Linked DNA regions of Homo sapiens: regions 1 and 2 are each linked to region 3. Evidence: promoter capture Hi-C in 16 types of primary human blood cells and fetal thymus (Javierre and others, 2016). All regions are on one chromosome and are shown on one strand. Each heading gives the region's core, a stretch centred on a gene start or on the middle of the fragment in contact. The rest is flanking DNA. Distances are from core to core; before and after follow the strand shown. Region 1 has its middle 21 kb from the start of MPRIP. Region 2 has its middle 13 kb from the start of SMCR2. Region 3 holds the start of NT5M (5',3'-nucleotidase, mitochondrial).

Region 1 (4,636 bases), core at 99-2,598, 280 kb before region 3:
GCTGAGGAAGAGTCCCCAGGCCAGGGAGAGAGAGGCTCAGCCAGACCTCCTGGGCCAGGAGCCCTCAGACCTCCCGCAGGTGAGGGACACGCTGTTCTGAACAGAGGCTGAGTGAGTTCTGTCCACAGCAATCCTGTCGAACCTGTCTGGCCGGGTACAGAGCTTCAGGGCCCATATCCACGCTCAGGGGCAGGTGTCCTCAGGCGAGGACCATCAGGCAGCTTTCCCCCTCCAGGGCCCCTCCCTAGACAGGGCTCACACCAGACTTGCCCAGGGCCACAGCCCAGGACAGAGTGTTTGGCCTGTCTAAGGCCCAATATAGATTCCAGAATTCATTCATGGTTGCTGAACATTCCAGTTCAGCTGGGGACATGGGACGGGCAGGAGGGGTCTGCTGCCTAATCTGATGGATCTTCCATCCTGGTGGGGCAGGGGGCAGATGAGAACCAAGTGGGCACACAGGGAGATGGGAACTCAAGGCAGGGGGATGGTGGCAGCTCCATGGGCAGCTCTGAGGGCCAAGGACAGAGGAGGTTGTTTTGGGGGAGTGGGGAAGGTGGCTTGGAGGGGGCGGACTACAAAGACTAGCTTGGGTTGGGGCATGGTGAGTGCAAAGGTCCCGAGGCAGGAAAGAATGAGGATTTTGAGGTCCTGAACAGAGGCTGGCAGTGGGGAGAAAGGACATGGCAGCGGGGGTGGGGAGCAGGCCTCAGGGCCAGGAAGCCATGGGGGCAACCAAGTGTGGTTCTGGGGGCATGGAGGAGCCAAGAGGAGAGGGTGAGGTGGAAGGTGGCCAGACTCGATTTGTGTTTTTAGCAGACTCTGCAGTCAGGACTTGGGATCTGGACCACAGGAAGGGAGAGCGACAGCTGGGATGTGACCATTTTCACTGCAGGGCACCTGGGAAGGGGAGAGGGCGTGAAGTGGCCCAGACGTGGCTTTCCATTGGTGACCTCGTGCCCCACTCTCCACTGCCCCTTTTCACTTAACACTTCAGGAAACAGGTTCAGAGAAGGGAAGGGAATGGCCCAAGGTCCCTTGGCCCAGAATTGTACCTAGACAGGTGCACCTGGTCCCAGACTGCTCTCTTCTCACCACCCCACACTGCCCCCAATCTGTCAGGTAAGAAACTTTGGGTGGGAAGGGAGAAGGAAATTGAACCAGGGAGGTGATTACTGCCTCTCACACACAACTGGGCAGCAGGCGAAAGGCCAGGCGGCCCAGCCCCCTATCCAGGGTCCCCAGAGCTTGTTATTGGTATGTTGTGCTCACCTCCCTGTCCAGGAGTGAGAATTGGCTGTGTCTGACTCCTTGGGAAGGCTGTGTCCCCAGCCTGGGCCCTGTGGGTACTTAGTCATCTCGCACCCCAGAGTCACTCTGACCCCCGATGTGAACTGACCACTGAGCTTCAACAAATTAAGGGCCAAGTGCAGGAACAAAGTTGGATCCCACCCTCTTCTGCTTCCTCAAGCCACGGCCCGGAGTGATGAGCCACCTCCGCTCTGACCTCACCTCCTCCCAGCTCCCTGACTCCTTCGGCGGGGGGCCTGGCCAGCTTGTTCGGCCACTCTGGGCTCCAGGCTCTTCAACTGGAAAGAGATGCTTGTGGAGTTCCTCATGGCAAGTCTGGGCAAGCCAGCCTGACGGCCAGCCTGCGACTCCTTGTCCAGAACTCTGTCAACTCCACCAGTGCCTGTCACGGAAACCGCATGGCCACCAGCTTCAGGTGACAGGCCTCTTGCCTGGGTGATGAGCTTCCCAGGCCCATGCTATGGTGTGCGCTTTTTCACAGGAAGAGGATCGAGAGCAAGGGTCCCATTCTGGTGGTCCTCAGCCCGCATCTGGCCCACAGATGTTTAATTGGGCTGACATAATATATAGTTTTACCTTTTTTTTTTTTTTTTTTTTGAGACGGAGTCTCACTCTGTTGCCCAGGCTGGAGTGCAGTGGCGCCATCTCAGCTCACTACAAGCTCCGCCTCCCAGGTTCACGCCATTCTCCTGCCTCAGCCTCCCGAGTAGCTGGGACTACAGGCACCCGCCACCACACCCGGCTAATTTTTTTGTATTGTTAGTAGAGACAGGGTCTCACCATGTTAACCAGGATGGTCTCGATCTGCTGACCTCGTAATACGCCTGCCTTGGCCTCCCAAAGTGCTGGGATTACAGGCGTGAGCCACCGTGCCCGGTCTAGTTTTACATTTTTAATGCATTGCCAACATTTGAACATGAGTAGCTTTCACACAGAAAGATGGCTCTTTGGCTCCTCTGAAACACTGGACGACCGGGTGCCCTGCAGGGCCACAGTGAGCCAGAGGTGGGGGACATGGGCTCCAGACAAATCCCATGCCGAGCAGACCATGCCAGCCATCAACACCGCAGGCCTGGCCCTTGGGCATTGGAGTAATGGGTCTAGAATTTCCTTCACATTGTCAAAGGAGCCTGTGACCCAGAAATGGTAAGTAAGGTCCGATTCTCACCAACAAAGCAGGCATGACCTCAGACAAGTCCCTACCCTGCTCTGGGCCTCAGTTTCTCCTTTAGTGAGGAGGTGGGTGAGGGTCCTGTCCTCCTCCGGGAACTGGCGATTTGGGAAGGCAGAGACATTCCCAGAATCCGCCGGAGTCCTGAAAACACCCACGCCCTTTGTCCCAGCAATCCTGAGAAAGGCCACACTGATAAAGCTGTGGGTGGCCAGATGACAGCATTCTTGGGCCTCAGACGAAGTGGGAGGGGCCCACCCGCTTAGCTCCTCATAGCCCAGGGGAGCGGGGACAGTGCCTGCTGGGGCCGTGGGCAGCCCGGTGCCAGCCCCTACTGGCATTTCGATGATGCCACAAGTGCCGTGCCACAGCAGGGAGCCGCACAGTCATATTTTGCAAGGTTTTGAGGAAAGAATGCCAGTGTGGTAGGAGGGGAGACCAGTCCCCTCCCTCCCACCCCTCTGGGCTCCATCTGAAGCTGGTTCCTGAGAAGCACGATTGTGCCTTTTCACTGAAGGAGGGGCCCCCAGCTGTACTATGGACTTACTGACTTGTTTCCCAGCTCAGCCTGCCCCGGAGCAGAGCTAGGCAGGACCTTGGTGAAGAGGGTGCAGGGCTGGCCTGGCCTGGTCATGACACTGGGATAAGGAAGCCTGCTCTCCTCCCACCACTTCCAGCTCACAGGGGAATCTGAAACAGCCTCTCCTTTAGGGCTAGGGTTGCCTTTCAGCCACAGCGCCTATAAACCCATCACGGCACAGTGTTTGCCAGATAAGGCATCATCTTGGGTGAAAAATGTAGATTTTTCATCCTACGCAAGTAGGATGAAATCCAAATGGACTTATGGAGACACAGACACCTTTGTTTCAACACCTGGCCACAAGGCCCCCCAAAAGCTTCTATAAACAAAAGGGCTGACAGACCTAGCTCATCCGGTAGGCCCAGATCTTCCTTGCCCGGGGTGCCATGCAGGCAACCCACCCCGGGCTAGGGCAGTGGAGGCTTGATGACCAGGTGAGCTTGGGAGTCCCTGGGCAGAGGCAGGTCTCAGTCCCAGGGCCTTGGGTCTGCTGCTGGGTGTGATGAGTTAATAAGGAGGGCATGGTGTGCAGAATGAGCTCGGGTCCTGGCCATGGGACATCTGGCCAGCACTGTGCCCCTTGGAGCCCATCTTTCCATGGGATCATTAGAGTCCTTCTCTTGCAGCTGTTGGGAGAATGAAACACAAGGAAAGCCCAGGACCAGTACCAGGCACAGGGTCAGTGGCGACAGGTGAGACCACTCCATGTCCCCAGACACATCTGTCCTCTGAGCCTTTCACCTTGGGCTTGCCACTGGACTATCTCTCAAGTAGAAGGGGCTATGGGCGCCCCTCCCTGGTGGTCAGCAGTGGGGTGACCACCTCCTAAGGCAGTGAGTTCCCCATCAATGCGCGTGGCGGTTACTGAAGTGGGGCTGGGGCTGGAGCTGAGCCTGCTGGCTGGGAGAGGGGAAGGCTGCAGTGGCTGGGGAGCCAGGTCCAACCCAGCAGCCTGGTGGCCCCTTCCCACTCTCAGGGAATATCCCACACCTTCCCTGAGCACTGCCTCTGGGCCAGGCCCTGCTGGGAAGGGAGCTGAGAATACCACAGACTGGTCCCCACCCTTGTGGGGCTCATAGGCTGAGGCTGCTAAGTAACATCCCTGTCCCTGTGACACTCGGAACAGGAAGTCAAGAAAGAAGGTTCAGGAATCCTTTGCTGTTTTCCTAATACCAGACCCATCTTTTTCTTTAGCATGTCAACAACTCCCCTCCCTTCTGCGCCTGGAGATTCCTCTTTCTCCTTCAATACATATTTTGAAATGATATTTATTAACATAAAAATTATAAAACCTTTCAAACATCCAGAAAAATATAAGGAAAAATACCAAATATCCATGTTCTCACCACTTGGATTTAACACATGTGAACATTTGCCATGCTTCAGATCCTCCTTTTAAAACAAAATTGTATGACACAGCAATTGATGAACGGATCATCAGTACAATGGACTGTTATTCAGTCGCAGACAGGAATGATGTGTGGACTTGCCATGGTGTGCATGAGCCTCGAAGACATGATGCTGAGTGAAGGAATCAGACACAAAATGCTGCAGATTGTCTGATCCCATGTATT
Region 2 (4,541 bases), core at 803-3,302, 360 kb after region 3:
TGGCACGATCTCAGCTCACTGCAACCTCCGCTTCCTGCGTTTAAGCGATTCTCCTGCCTCAACCTCCCAAGCAGCTGGGATTACAGGCATGCACCACCAAGCCTGGCTAATTTTGTATTTTTAGTAGAGACAGGGTTTCTCCATGTTGGTCAGGCTGGTCTCAAACTCCTGATCTCAGTGATCTGCCCGCCTTGGCCTCCCAAAGTGCTGGGATTACAGGCATGAGCCACCGCGCCTGGCCATTTGTTCCTTTTTATTGACAAATACTATTTCCTTGTCTGGACATACCGCATGTTGCCTCTCCATTCATCAGTGGATGAACAATGGGCTGTTTTCACCAGTGCACTTGCCTTGGAATCCACAAACTGCAAATGGCAGTGGCCTTGCCCATCCCACCCACACCGCTGCAGTGCGCGGCCTGCTCGTTGGGCCACAGATACATGAACCTCCACCTGCCTCAGGGCCTCTGCACTTACTGTTGCGATGCTTGCGATGCTCTTCCCATGACTCTGGCCTCCTTCCTCAGAACCTCTGCTCATAAGTCACCTCTCTGACCACCCTGTCCTCAGTTTCCACCCCATCACTCTCTGTGCCCTCCTCCTGCTGTTCCTTCTCCCAGCACCCACTGGAGTCTCTGGTTTTGTTTGCTTGTTTGTGTATTGTCCATCTCCCACCAGACTGGAGACTGGAGACCCTCAGCGGAGGAAGTCTCTGTTCATGGCTGTATCCCCAGGGCCTGACACAGAGTGGACTCTAAATATGAGTTGAGTGAGCAGCTGCTGGTACAGGATCACAGGAGGATTAAATGAAATAGCGAGTGTGAGTGCCCTTTGCAACCTGCTGTGCTTATTGAGGGGGAAACAGGCTGAGAAAGGTGCAGTGACCAACCCAGGGCCACCAGGTCAGAGCGATAGACACCCAGGCCTACACCCCTCCCTGGGCCACCCTCCTGTCCACCCTGCCTCAGGGCCAGCGTTCCTAAGGCACATTACACACACACACAGCCCACAGACACCCAGACCGCACACACAGCTCAACACCACACACAGACAAACGCCCTCAATGCAGACATGCCCAGCCTTGCACACACAGGAAGTCCACACACAAACACCAGCACACTGCCTTGAACACGCAGGAATAGCATTCACACGCCCATCCCCCTACACAAACACACAGGCCACACCCACACGCCAAAACACACCCCCAGCGTCAGACCTTGATGACTGACAGCCCAGGACTCCAGTGGGCTTGCGTCGCCATAACAACAGACGGCTCCGAGTCTTGGGCTGTGAGTGTGGTCGGGCTGTGAGTCACAGCTGCAGCAGACGCTCCGCAGAGCAGGAGCAGCCTGGCCCAGTGCGGACTCCCCAGTGCCAACCTCTTATGGACGCAGAGTGGACCCTCTCAGATGGGTGTGCAGTGTCCATTAGCATTACCCACAGGAGGGATGTGGCCCTCAGGTGTCCCCTGTGTGCCACACACTGGCGTGCGCCCAGAGCTTCACACACATTTTCTTGCTTAATCCTCGTGGTGTCCTCACCAAATCAGTGTGGCCAGGGAGACCATTTTACAGATGTTGAAACTGAGGTTCAGGTAGGGGAAGTCCCTTGCCTCACTCAGGTCACACAGTGAGTCACCACCAGGCCTGAAATTTGAATTCAGGTCTACTGAACCATGAAGGGTCCTCTTTCCACTGCCCTGAATCCAATCCAGGGGAGCTCCCAGCTGTGCACACCATTTCCAGACAAGAGCAATAGATTATCAGCTCTCACTTGCACCAGAGTTGGTTCTGCCCTTGTAGAGCTCCCTTGGTAGGTAGTGAGATCCCCATCATGAGCAGCATCCAAGCAGAGACTGTCATAGCTGCTATGGAGAAGCATCAAGTATCAGGGGACAAGGGGTTGGACCAGACGGCCTGGCTTTGAGTTGTAAATGACAAAAAAAATTATTGGCAAACAAAACAGGAATATAAAAGCTTCAGGAACAGCTGGATCCAGCTGTCAGATGTCATCAGGAATCTTCTTCTGGATTTCCCCTTCCTTGGGGTTCACTTTCTTCTCAGAATAACCTTCCCTAGCCTAGGGTAGACCTCACAGCTGCAGGCTTACATCGGTCGTGGCCCCCAAAAGCAAGCTTAATAGATGTTTGTCAGATGAATGCTAGAAGCATGATAAGGTTGCGGGTCTCAGTCTAAGTAAATCCCAACTTGACCTCTGGGAGTCACTCTGAGGAGGCGCAGTGCTCATTCCTGTGTGCCAAATCCCATCATCTCTCAAACGTCGTATGATTGAGTTAGATTGTACTATGCACTTCACAGACATTAACTCATGGAAATCCCAGGCAGCCCTATGCAGTGGTCACAATCTCCATCTCATGGACGGGGACACAGGGTCCCAAAGAGGCAAAGTGTGGTACCTGAGGTAGGGCTAGAGCCACACAGTGCCTTACCAGGCTGAGATCAGGAGGCCGTACCTCTGAACGAGGGCAGGACTGTTCTTCACAGGCAGCTTTCCTCCAAGGAGGCAGAGGACGGCACTGGCACGTTCACTCAGCAGCCAACATTGGCAAGCACCCACTCTACCCCGTGGCCCGGGGTGCCACTGCCCATGGAGCTTGGAGGTGCCAACTGCTGCCAGTGACCTTGGGTAAGTCATTTTGTGCTTGATCCTTGCATCCCCATCTGTAAATGGGCAGGTCACCCCACTCAGAGGGGCAGAACTCATGTCAGTGGTTGAACGCTTCTGGCAGTACAGCCCAATAGAACTTCCTATACCAGGTCCCACAGGGTGGCCACACACCGCTCCTGAACACCAGAAAGTGACTAGTATAATAATAACAATTTTAAAGGCCGGGCGCGGTGGCTCATGCCTGTAATCCCAGCACTTTGGGAGGCCAAGGTAGGCGGATCACAAGGTCAGGAGTTCAAGACCAGCCTGGCCAACAGAGTGAAACCCTGTCTCTACCAAAAATACAAAAATTACCCGGGTGTGGTGGCATGTGCCTATAGTTCCAGCTACTAGGGAGGCTGAAGCGGAAGAATCGCTTGAACCCGGGAGGTGGAGGTTGCAGTGAGCTGAGACCGCACCATTTGTACTCCAGCTTGGGTGATAGAGTGAGACTCTAAAAGAAACACACACACACACACACACAATTTTAAGTTTTATTTCTTTTAAATTGATTGAAATGTACCTAGCTACACGTGGCTAATGACAACCATATTGAGCAGCAAAGCTCCAGGGTTCTAGACAAACAGCAGATATTAATTTTGGTTTTGTTCTGTTTTACTAACCCCACCCCATGCTCCAGTGCAGGCAGCCTGGTCCCTAGCTTGTCTCAGAGAGCTTTGCTGGCCTCCTTTGCCAGACCCGGTGGCCAGACTCATCATGGCCTTGGGACCTTTGTGTGGCTCTGGAGAAGAAAGAAGCTCCCAATAATGGCTGAGATTCAGTTGCCCACCAGCCAGCAGGATAGGGGCTTAGAACAGGATGTAAGATGATTTAAAGAAAAAAAGGGGCTGGGCGTGGTGGCTCATGCCTGTAATCCCAGAATTTTGGGAGGCCGAGGAGGGTGGATCACTTGAGGTCAGGAGTTCGAAACCAGCTTGGCCAACATGCTGAAACCCCATCTCTACTAAAAATACAAAATAATTAGCCGGGCGTGGCAGCCGGCGCCTGTAATCCTAGCTACTTGGGAGGCTGAGGCAGGGGAATCGCTTGAACCCGGGAAGTGGAGGTTGTAGTGAGCCGAGATCACACCACTGAACTCCAGCCTGGGTGACAGAGTGAGATCCATCTCAAAAAAAAAAAAAAAGAAAAAGAAAAAAGGAAGCTGGCTGTTTCTGGCACACCTGGGTTTTCCACTGGGTCTATACCAGGTGCACAAGTGCCTACTCCCCACCTCTATACCCGCACAACCCACCACGTGGACATGCACCAAACACACCCCCCAGCTGTGTGTGGACACAAGCAGCCAACACATGCTCTGTGGCTTACTCCTCCCATGCTCCTGGGCCTGGGCTGAGGGTCCAGCAGTTCACAGAACATCCACGTGGTCTGGGCTTCCAGAGCCTGTCCATCCTCCATCCCCTCTACCTGCCCAGGATCCCCGGGCCCCTGCTGGCCTACAGGAGTAAATGGCCACCTGCACACCCTACACACTCACGCCCAGCTCTGGATGGACATGAGGCAGGGCGAGGTCTGGGCGGTAGCCAGGAAATCCTAAGCTGTGAGTGTTCGTTCCCTGTTGCTGCTGTAAAGAGTTACTACACATGTCGGGGCTTAGAACAGCAGAAATGATTCTCTTGCAGTTCTGGAGACTGGGTGTCCAAAATCAGTATCACTGGTCTCGAGTCATGGCGTCTGTGGGGCTGTGCCCCCTCGGAGGCGCCAGGGGAGAACCTGTGCAGGGCCCCTTGCAGCCTCAGCCAGCTGCCCTGGTGATCCCTGGCTGTGTTTGCATCACTCTGGTCTCTGCCTCGGTGGCCGCGCAGTCTCCTCCTCCGTGCTTGTGTTGTCGAGTCTCCCTCAGCCTCTCTCTGTTGT
Region 3 (4,908 bases), core at 438-2,937:
CTCCACTTGTCTGCCTACCCCATTCTTCCTGGATGCAGGACAAGAACTCGGGACCTGCCAAATGGTGGGGCTAAAAGAGCTGTAACACAGGCTGGGTGCAGTGGCTCACGCCTTTAATCCCAGCACTTTGGGAGGCCGAGGGGGGTGGGGCGGATCACCTGAGGTCAGGAGTTTGAGGCCAGCCTGGCCAACATGGTGAAACCCTGTCTCTACTAAAAATACAAAAATCGGCCGGGTGCGGTGGCTCACACCTGTAACCCCGGCACTTTGGGAGGCCGAGGCGGGCAGATCACAAGGTCAGGAGTTGGAGATCAGCCTGGCTAACATAGTGAAACCCTGTCTCTACTAAAAATGCAAAAAAGCTGGGTGTGGTGGTGGGCGCCTGTAATCCCAGCCACTTGGGAGGCTGAGGCAGGGGAATCGCTTGAACCTGGGAGGTGGAGGTTGCAGTGAGCCGAGATCCTGCCACTGCACTCCAGCCTGGGCAACAAGAGCAAGACTCCCTATCAAGAAAAAAAAAAAAAAAAGGGAGAGAATGTGGTACATATATACCATAGAATACTTCACAGTCATAAAAAAAGAATAAGATCATGTCTTTTGCAGCCATATGGATGGAGCTGGAGACAATTATCCTAAGCAAACACAGGAACAGAAAATTAAATACCTCATGCTCTCACTTAAAAGCGGGAACTAAACATTAAGTAAACATGGACGTAATGATGGGGACAACAGACACGGTGACCTACTTGAGGGTGGAGAGTGGGAGGAGGGTGAGGATGGAAAAACTACCTATCAGGAACTACGCTTATTACCTGGGTAATAATAATCTGTACACTAAACCCCCAAGACAGTCAATTTATATAACAAATCTGCACATGTATCCCTGTACTTAAAAGTTGAAAAGAGGCCGGGCGCGGTGGCTCACGCCTGTAATCCCAGCACTTTGGGAGGCTGAGGTGGGAGGATCGTTTGAGCCCAACATAGGAAGACTCCTGTCTCAAAAAAAAAAAAAAAAAAAAAAAAATTACCAGGGTGTGGTGGCAGGCCCCTGTGGTCCCAGCTACTCAGGAGGCAGAAGCAGGACGATCCCTTGGGCCCAGAAACTCAAGGCTGCAGGGAACCGAGATCATGCCACTGCTTCCACCCTGGGTAACAGAGCAAGACCCCGTCTCCAAAAAAAAAAAAAAAAAAAAGCAATACAGGGGTACTTAATATTTATTCATATATTTACCTGAGAATCATCAGTTTTACTAAGGCTGTATGATGTTAGCAGATATTGGTTCTATCAGTCTCTCCGCAGACATTTGCTGTAAATAAAGCAGAGAGGCTTTCAGAGTGCACCCTGTTTTTGTTCCTCCATCCTGTTGTCTGGATCCCCTTCTAAAACGTAAGTTCCAGGATGGCAGGAACTTTGTCTATTTGGTTCACACTCGACACAGTTAGTGCTCAAAAATGTCTAACGACACAGGCCTGCTTCTCGGTTTGCACTGCTCCTCCATGGTAGTCTGTGCAGTGGGAGAAGGCAGCCCGGGCCCAGGGTCCACGGAGAAGACGCAAATCGACAGCGCGGGAGCGCGGACCTTCTGGAGGCGCGCGGCGCTTACCGCTGTCCGTCCTCGAAGCCCCGCCCCGGGGCTCCGCCTCCGCCGGCGCGTGTTCCTTTAGGGACCGCGCGCGCCGCGGCCTCGCTCTGGGGCCGGTACTTGCGCGCCCGCACCCCGCGCTCCCCGCCCCGCTCCCCGTCCCGCGCTCCACGCGCGCCCCAGCGTTGGGGGCTTCTCCTCCGCGGCGGGAATGTCTGGCCGGCTCCGGCAGCACGGCGCGGCCCAGGTCCCCGCGCCCACGACGGGCCAGCGCGCTGGGCCATGATCCGGCTGGGCGGCTGGTGTGCGCGGCGGCTCTGCAGCGCGGCGGTTCCCGCGGGGCGGCGCGGGGCGGCGGGCGGGCTGGGCCTGGCGGGAGGCCGCGCCCTACGGGTGCTGGTGGACATGGACGGCGTGCTGGCTGACTTCGAGGGCGGATTCCTCAGGAAGTTCCGCGCGCGCTTTCCCGACCAGCCCTTCATCGCGCTGGAGGACCGGCGCGGCTTCTGGGTGTCGGAGCAGTACGGCCGCCTGCGGCCAGGGCTGAGCGTGAGCGTCCCCGCCCCGCCCCGCGCCGGGCCTCCTTCTCGCCCCGAGCCCCAGACACCGCCCCTGCGCCGGTGACCTTGGACGGTCAGCGCCCCAGCCTCGGGGTGGCCCTCTGATAGAATAGGGTCTGGGGGGGACTAGGGGCCACAGCGCACCGGGAAGATGCGGCCCCGCGCTCAGGATCTGTTGGCTGCCATCCAAGGTTTCTGAAAATGCGGGAGAGTACAAAGTGTTAATATACCTAACTCTGCATTTAAAGCTGACTTCAAAATTTGTGGCATATTTGGCCTCAAGTCGTTTGTTAAATTTTTAGAAAAATAAACGTTATAAGTTGTCCTCTTTCACCCCGACCGCAGTCACATTCCCACTTCTTTGTCCCCAGGACTTTGATGGGTGTCTTTACCCATCTTTTTTACTGTTGTCCATGAAAGCATAGCTTCCAGGGGTATTTGAGGCCCAGAGAGGTTGTGTGACTTTCTGGGGGTCACACAGTGAGTCAGTGGTCCAGGTGAGGTGGGATCCACCTCATGTCTTATCCCCTTGCAGAGCTGGCCTTGCTGAACACCTGAGCTCAACCCCTACCATCCGACTCCCGAGGTGTTCTGTCCAGGATGGATAGAGGGGAAAGATCCAAGGAGGGACGTTTACACACAGATCTTGGTTGGTAAATTTGAAGTATTTTGCAAAAGGAACAGGGGATTTTGGTATGCACAAAATTAAAGAGGCTGAGTGTTTTTTGGCATCCCTTGATTGGCCACCTAGGGTTGCTGCTGGAGGGTTTGATAAAGAGGAGAAGGAAGTTACAAGAGCCCGTTTTTTAGCCACAAGTTCACTGCATCCTCTCTTTTGTTGGGTAGATATTATTATCTCTGTTTTCCAGATGAGGAAACTTGCCCCAAGTCACATGCTGCTCAGGGGCTCAGTCAGGACTCAAACCCAAGTCTGTCTGCCTCCCAAGCACAGTTAGTGCTCCCCACTCCACAGTCCTGTTCTCTGTACTACTGTCTCTAACAAGTGACATTTCTTCTGACATCAGAAAGATGCCTCATCAGTAATGTGGTTTGTTGAGGGACAGGTGTTAAAAAAGGAAACCAAGTACCGTTTGTCTCCATCAACACCAGGCACTTCAGAAGGTGACTTTCACAGAGCCCAGTGTGCTGAGCTCTTCTACAGCGGATGCCTAATGATAAACTTTAAACTGGAGAAAATGCCCTGGTACTTTCTGCAGCCTCAGGAATAGGCTCCAGTGTGTGGCGAGTGTTCATTTATAGGCAGCGCTCGGCATGGGGAGTCTGGACACCATATATCCGCCCGGGAGTGTATTAACGTGGAAACCAAGCCCACCCCCAACTCCGAAAAGTGCAGCAGCTTTTCCAGTTCTTTGTGCAAATATGTAGGCTCTGTACGTGTGGGGTTACTGGTTTCCAAGCACAAGGCAAAGGCACGGGGCAGTAAGGAGGGTGCCTTGGGAGTAATCTGCTGGCTTCCACTACTTCCCTTCCTGAGGCACGGCTTGCTGCTGTGGACATCCCTGGGCCTACCCCAAGCTGGCCCAGTATCTGTGGTTAAAACAACCGCCCCCCCCCCCCCGCCCCCACACACGTGGCTCCTTATGTGTATGTAGGCATTTCTACTTTTCAAAATTCTGCTCTGTCTGTATTCCCTTTGGTCTTCACAGTACCCTATGTGGGATGTGAGGATCAAATGTGTTTCAGTAATAAGCACGCATTTGCCTAGTCCCTGTGGTTCCTGAGAGTGTTGCTGGTATGCTGTCAGGGCATCCTCCGGCCGTCCATGTGACAGGGTGGCTGTCTTTCTGTAGTGTGCAGAACAGCTGGTAGAGGCACTTCCTGTACTGCACACGTGGGATTTAGGCTCCTGCTCATAGGCTGAGATGTGTCTCCCCTCTGGTTGTCACTTTCCCCTTGCCTGACCCTAGAAAAGGTGCTGCATTCTGGCCCTGCAGCAGAACAGGGGAAGGAGAAAGGCAGCGGGGGTTGGGGAGTGGGGAGGAGAGGGTTGGTGTTGGGGGTTCTTCTCCCAGCTCAGCTGCTGTTTTGCTGTGTGACATCAGGTGGATCTCTTCCCCGTTCTGAGCCTCAGTTTTCTGACATGTAAAATGAGGGTCTGCATTTTTGCTTTGCAACTCTAAAAGCAGCAGAATCCTTTTTTTAAAAATGTACTTATTGGCACCTCAACATATAAAACCGATAAAAGCAGAGCTCTTCTGGTTAATGTGGGGAGGATCCTCGAGCTCCCTGAATTGTCCTTTTACCCTGTCTCCCCCTCCCCCTTGTCCCTCATGGCACCTTAAAGATCTCTGAGTCCCTCCAGTTCTCAAGTTTAAGGACTCTACTACCATGGTAAGAGCTGGTCCAGCCTCAGTTTCCACAATGCTTTTGGCCACTCGAATCCAGCCTAACAAGCACGCAGTTCCTGATGATTGGCCTCAGGTCCCAGAGAGCTCCAGCAGGTGTAGGAGTCCATGGGCCTGACACCTTTGCTGGTCTCTGCTGGATCCCGACGAAGTCAGGTCCTTTCTGGAAAGGGGTTCGAAGTCCACATACTCTCCGCACTACCCCCAGGAAGTACGTCCTTGGGTGTGTGTTTGGGGGAGTGAGAGGAATGAAGAACCACTCCCCCTATAGCCTGGCCATACTCCCCAAGATGAGGGCAGTAAGGTGCTGAGGACCCTGGAAGTAACTTGCTTTTCTCAACTTCTCAGGAGAAGGCCATCAGCATTTGGGAGTCAAAGAATTTCTTTTTTGAACTTGAG

Evidence for each region. The method cuts DNA at HindIII sites, captures the fragments that hold promoters and counts their contacts. A CHiCAGO score of 5 or more calls a contact.
Region 1: a fragment that was not itself captured here is called in contact with the fragment with the promoter of NT5M in region 3 in 3 of 17 cell types (non-activated CD4 T cells, activated CD4 T cells and naive CD4 T cells); the score reaches 7.7 in non-activated CD4 T cells.
Region 2: a contact is called between a fragment that was not itself captured here and the fragment with the promoter of NT5M in region 3, in 1 of 17 cell types (M1 macrophages). The highest score is 6.3, in M1 macrophages.

The regions. Positions count from the first base shown.
Region 1 is chr17:17,018,664-17,023,299 of GRCh38, forward strand. No RefSeq gene overlaps it. Among named protein-coding and RNA genes, the nearest start is that of MPRIP, 21 kb to the right of the region's middle. RefSeq lists an enhancer at 1,109-2,056. The HindIII fragment of the contact is 4,056 bases long and covers 1-3,376 here.
Region 2 is chr17:17,662,251-17,666,791 of GRCh38, forward strand. No RefSeq gene overlaps it. Among named protein-coding and RNA genes, the nearest start is that of SMCR2, 13 kb to the right of the region's middle. RefSeq lists enhancers at 853-942, 1,433-1,572. The HindIII fragment of the contact is 158 bases long and covers 1,974-2,131 here.
Region 3 is chr17:17,301,686-17,306,593 of GRCh38, forward strand. It overlaps NT5M (5',3'-nucleotidase, mitochondrial), which reads left to right and starts at 1,688. Exons shown (of 5, transcript NM_020201.4): 1 at 1,688-2,132; 2 at 4,858-4,908. The coding sequence starts at 1,866. RefSeq lists silencers at 1,618-1,787, 1,838-1,937, 2,068-2,257. The HindIII fragment of the contact is 19,177 bases long and covers 1-4,908 here.